Regions from separate parts of the Homo sapiens genome. Here region 2 is linked to region 1. The links are contacts of gene promoters, found by promoter capture Hi-C in human tissues and cell types (Jung and others, 2019). All regions are on one chromosome and are shown on one strand. The core of a region is centred on a gene start or on the middle of the fragment in contact, and the rest is flanking DNA. Distances in the headings are between cores, read along the strand shown.

Region 1 (3,039 bases), core at 419-2,918:
AAGAGCCCGGAGAGGAAAAAGGAGGTGGGGAGGGGCTGCGTGTGCATAGACCTCAGGGTGGGGCAACCGAGGACCTGAAGGCTGGTTTCCGGCCGCCATCCTCACATCCAGGCGCAATGTGAGCTCATCCCTGGGAGTTGGGAAATGCAACCGGCAGGCTCTGGAGGCTGTTCTGGGACTGAATGCAAAGCAGGCGACCCTCCCCCCGGCCCCAAACCCAAGCACTGCAGCGGCCCCACAACCCCTCCCCCCACCCACATCCCCACTCCCCCGTCCCCAGTGAGAATTCACTATTTTTAGGAAAAAGGGGAAGCCTCTCAGCAGATCCTTGAAAGGAAGTGACTTTGTGACTAAGTGGAGGCAGGAACATCATGGCACAAGGGCACACGTCGCACACCCAGCTGGGCCCACTGTGGACGGCGCAGATGCTGCCTCAGAGCAGCCTCCGAGACAGGCAGCTGCAGCGGTGCAGCCCAGGGCCCTCGCAGAAGCTTCCCCGGGGCCTGGCCTCGTGCTGAGAGAACTCTGCGCTCCTGAGGGCACCTGGCTGTCATGCACACGTGCTCACACGAACACACACACCTACACGTGCGCACACTCACACTCCGTGCACACACGTATGTGCACACTCATGCACGCGTGCACACACGTCTACCAGCTGAGTGCAGTAAAAGAACCACATGAAAACCTTGCATCCTGGTTAAAAGTATGGTGACAACATGGACAGATAAACTGGAAAAGATGGGAAGAAACCTTAAGCCCAGGATCTGGCAGCACAAAGGTGCCTGGAAAGCGACAATCAGCGTTTTTATATTCAGGGAAATCAGGAACACTGCCACCCGCCCGCCAGGCCGGCGCCCATGCCAGACCCAGCCAAGGTGCTTCTGGCCACATCACCCCTGCTGGCCTGCAGGGAGCTGGCCCAGGAGCCGAGAGGCCTATGGGAGCAGGCAAGGCTTGCTGAGGTGACAGCGGAGAGGAGAGGTCGGGCTTTGTTGCCAGGCAGCCCCCCAACATTCAGGTCCTTTTTCCACTGAAAGCCATGTGGCCTCAGAGCGGCGTCACCCCGAAGCTTGTCCCAGCCGGGGCCTGACAGCAGGTAAAGGCTGACTAGCAACTCTGCATCCCTCAGAGTGTGGGGGAAGGTGGATGTGGTCCCACCTCCACATCCAGGGTCCCCTTGCTGGCCTCTGGGCATTTGGGTCCTGGTGTGATTACCCAGCCCCCTCTCCCTGCACAGGGGTGAACTGCATCTCCTGGAGGCAGGGCCAGTGCCCCACCACCTCCCCAGCACACCCGAGCCCAGGTCTGGGCTCCCAGGAGGGCCTGGGGCCACCTGTGGGACCAACCCAAACCCTCAGGCAGCTCCACCAGCAGAAAGCGTCATGCTGTGTGTGGGATAACCTCCTCAGGGGATTAGTTCTCAGGGCCTGGTCCGCTAGAAGCCAAATGCCTGTGCCCAGCCACCCGTGACGCCTGCAACAGGCAGGAGATCCCCCAACAGTTACTCCCAGCCTTCATTCCACAGGGTCTGGTTTTCCTGGAAGGTGGGAAGTCCCAGGGTCTGAGGAGAGGGAGCGCAGGCCCCCATTTGTAGGAGTGAGTCAGCTGACCCGCCCCCGGGGTTCCTAATCTCACTAAGAAAGACTTTGCTGATGACAGGGTTTCCTGGGAGTCCATGCGTGCCTGGAGCAGCAGCGTCTCCAGGGACAGGCAGCCACCATGAGCCTCAGTGAGGAGCAGGCCCGGAGCTTTCTGGACCAGAACCCCGATTTTGCCCGCCAGTACTTTGGGAAGAAACTGAGCCCTGAGAATGTGGCCGCGGCCTGCGAGGACGGGTGCCCGCCGGACTGCGACAGCCTCCGGGACCTCTGCCAGGTGGAGGAGAGCACGGCGCTGCTGGAGCTGGTGCAGGATATGCAGGAGAGCATCAACATGGAGCGCGTGGTCTTCAAGGTCCTGCGGCGCCTCTGCACCCTCCTGCAGGCCGACCGCTGCAGCCTCTTCATGTACCGCCAGCGCAACGGCGTGGCCGAGCTGGCCACCAGGCTTTTCAGCGTGCAGCCGGACAGCGTCCTGGAGGACTGCCTGGTGCCCCCCGACTCCGAGATCGTCTTCCCACTGGACATCGGGGTCGTGGGCCACGTGGCTCAGACCAAAAAGATGGTGAACGTCGAGGACGTGGCCGAGGTGGGTCTGTGCGGAGCCTCAGGGAGGCGGCTGTGTGCATCTCTTGCACCTGTCCCAGGTGTCTAAGGGTCAGCTCGGATCCTCAGGCCTCCAGGGAGGCCTCTTGTCAGGGCACAGGCTAGTTCTGTGCTGAGGAGCAAGTACCTAGAGCCCCCTCCCGGCACTGTGCCCTGGCCGCCTGCCTCTCCGACTCGGCTTCTGGCTCAAGCTGACATCGCATGGCCACTGAGTTGGTTAGACCTGAGTCTAGGAGCCTCGGCTGAAGCAGACTCAGGCTCAAACCGGGGTGCCCCTGATTCTGCATCCACATCCCATGGTGGGGACCATGTAGTCCCTGTGAGGACCCCTGGCTTCCAGGAAGACTGACCAGATGGGGGCTTCAGGGCTCTCTGGGCTGGGAGGGAGGCCCTGCCTTGGGATTTGGGAAGAAGAGGTCACAGTCGAAGGTGGTGCAGACGCCCACAGGGAGGGAGAGCCAGGGGAACCCCAAACTTCCACTGTGGCAGAAGCAGCTTTATCCCATGGGAGCCCACGCCAGCCGCCAGGGGAGAACAAACCTGGTAGCCACTGAGCACAGGGGTCCAGGGTGGGACTGGGGAGGGACAAGAGACAGAATCGAGACAGGCTCACTGGAGTCACTGAAGGAGGGAAGGGCAGGGCCTGTTCATGCAAAGCCTGGGCTAGGGCAGACGCTTCCCGAGGACAGAGGCGGTCCTGGCGGGACTGGAGAACAAGAGGGGTGTGAGGTGCCTGCCAGACTGGGTGAGGGCAGCGGCCAGCAGAGACCTGGAAAGGCCCTGAGGAGCTGCCCGGCAAGGGGGCTCTGAGGAAGAAGGGGAGGGGGGAAGC
Region 2 (2,776 bases), core at 254-2,753, 250 kb before region 1:
CTTTACCTCATCCTCAAACTTTGCCAAACATAAGCGAATTCATACTGGAGAGAAACCCTACAAATGTGAAGAATGTGGCAAAGCCTTTAATAGGTCCACAACCCTTACTAAACATAAGAGAATTCATACTGGAGAGAAACCCTACACATGTGAAGAATGTGGCAAAGCTTTTAGACAGTCCTCAAAACTGAATGAACATAAGAAAGTTCATACTGGAGAGCGGCCCTACAAATGTGATGAATGTGGCAAAGCCTTTGGACGGTCCAGGGTCCTGAATGAACATAAAAAAATTCATACTGGAGAGAAACCCTACAAATGTGAAGAATGTGGCAAAGCCTTTAGACGGTCCACAGATCGGAGTCAACATAAGAAAATTCATAGTGCAGATAAACCCTACAAATGTAAAGAATGTGACAAAGCCTTTAAACAATTTTCGCTCCTGAGTCAACATAAGAAAATTCATACTGTAGATAAACCCTACAAATGTAAAGATTGTGACAAAGCCTTTAAACGGTTCTCACACCTGAATAAACATAAGAAAATTCATACTTGAGAGAAATCCTACAAATGTAAAGAATGTGGCAAACCTTTGGATGATCCACAAACCTTAATGAACATGAGAAAATTTATACTGTAGAGAAACCCTGGAAATGTGAAGAACGTGGCAAAGTTCTTTACCTCATTCTCAAACCTTGATAAACATAAGAGAATTCATACCGGAGAGAAACTGTACAAATGTGAAGAATATGGCAAAGCCTGTGAATGGTCCACAAACCTGAATGAGCAGAAGAAAATTATTACTGGAGATAAACCCTGCAAATGTAAAGAGTGTAACAAAACCTTTAAACAGCCCTCACCGGTGAATAAACATAAGAAAAATCATGCTGGAGGGAAGCCCTACACATGTGGCAGAATGTGGCAAAGCATTTAATTGGTCCTCAATGCTTAATAAATATAATTCATGCTGGAGAGAAACTTCACATGTGAACCGTGTGGCAAAGCCTTTAAATGGTCCTCAACCCTTAATGAACGTAAGTGAATTCATGCTGGAGCAAAATGCTTCACATGCGAAGAATGTGGCACAGTCTTTACCACATCCTCAAACTTTGTTAAACATAAGAGAATTTATACCAGAGAGAAACCCTACACATGTAAAGAATGTGGCAAAGCCTTCAATAGGTTCTCAACCCTTACTGTGCACAAGATAATTCATTCTGGGGAAAAAAATGCTACAAATGTGAAAAACGTGGCAGAGCCTTCAGACCATCCACAAACCTTTATGAAAATTCATATTTGAGAGTAGAAGATTCATTCCACAAACTTACATTGAGAAGATATGAAAGATGAATATAAGAATTCATCCTAGATATAAAACCATAGAAATGTAAAAGATGTGACAAAACCTTTAAGCCATACTCCAGGCTTCTTAAACATAATGAGAACTCATACTGGAGGAAAGTCTTACAAATGTGAAGAATGTGGCAGTCTTTAAATCTTCCTCAGTCTTTTCTAATCATAAGATAATTCACACTGAAGAGAAACTGCAAACGTGGAAAGTGTGACAAAGCTTGCAACCACACTCAATCTATTCTAAATATAAGAGAAATGATATTGGTGAGAAGCCACAAAAATATGAAAAATGTGGCAAAGCCTTCAAATGCTTGTCACATCTTACTGTATATATATAATTCCTACTGAAGAAATCCCCTGGAAATGCAAAAAATGTGGCAGGATTTTTACCAATGCTCATCTTTTTGCACATGATATCCTTTATATTCGAGAAAAGTTATAGAAATATAAAAAATATAGAAAAGTCATATCTCCTCACATTTTACTAACTAGCAATGTTCATACTTAATAAAAACATTATAAATGTAATTTCTGTTGAAAGACTTCAGAAAATATAGGCCTTTAAAGTGAAGAAGAGTATTCTTAAGACAAACAATACAAATATAAAGAGGGTTGTAGTACCTGTACTTCTCTCATGGATTTTGTTGTACACATTTTATAATAGGGGAAAACACTGAAGGAGACTTTCTTCAACATCAGAAAATTTATATTGGAGAGAAATCCTACAAATGTAATAAATGTGGAAAAACATTTGTTCAAAAACTGCAGCTTAAACAGTTTACACTAGAAAATATTTTGTAGATGCAGTAAATGTGAAGAAATATTTAGTCTAAAAAGAAGAGTATGTAAACATCAGAGGATTTACAGTAGAAAGAACTAAGGAACTAACACTTTAGACACTGCAGTAAATCAGAGTATTAAGTATTAAAAAAATCCAAAGTTGAACCTATTAGAGAATTTCTTTGTATATAAGTTGAAAAGAAGATTTTTGAAGAGATACTACATTTAAAGTATATTTTTTCACTTGAAAAAAGTATAGATTTTTTGAAAAGCATATAATAGTTAATTCAACTCAAATTATTTCATACTGTTTCAACATTCCTGTTTATGTGAAAGCATGTGATGAATTGTTGCTGCATCAGAGATAAGAGAGATTCTTTTTCATTAGGTGGGCATTATTTGTGAATTTTTACAAGAAAGAGTGAGGACAGAAATGAAAGATCCATGATGAAAATCTAGCAGAGAGGCTTTTTTGTAGTTGACAATATTGAGTGATGCATGAGGTAGGTGTTCAGAGTAATATTCTTCTGCATTATAGTGAGAGAAAATCTGTTTTAGTAGTAAATTGTTTTACCAATTATACATTTATGTAATAAGATACAGTAAATTTTAAAATTATTTTAAGATTATGTGGGAACATAATTTT

The links. The method cuts DNA at HindIII sites, captures the fragments that hold promoters and counts their contacts. A contact is called where the count stands out against the background at its distance.
Region 2: a fragment that was not itself captured here is called in contact with the fragment with the promoter of PDE6B in region 1 in 2 of the 25 tissues and cell types used here (H1 embryonic stem cells and dorsolateral prefrontal cortex).

The regions. Positions count from the first base shown.
Region 1 is chr4:623,905-626,943 of GRCh38, forward strand. It overlaps PDE6B (phosphodiesterase 6B), which reads left to right and starts at 1,669. Exons shown (of 22, transcript NM_000283.4): 1 at 1,669-2,190. The coding sequence starts at 1,723. RefSeq lists enhancers at 1-355, 1,345-2,334, 2,335-3,039. The HindIII fragment of the contact is 19,693 bases long and covers 782-3,039 here.
Region 2 is chr4:373,310-376,085 of GRCh38, forward strand. ZNF141 (zinc finger protein 141) reads left to right here. Exons shown (of 4, transcript NM_003441.4): 4 at 1-2,776. The coding sequence ends at 553. Among named protein-coding and RNA genes, the nearest start is that of MIR571, 25 kb to the left of the region's middle. The HindIII fragment of the contact is 4,529 bases long and covers 1-2,776 here.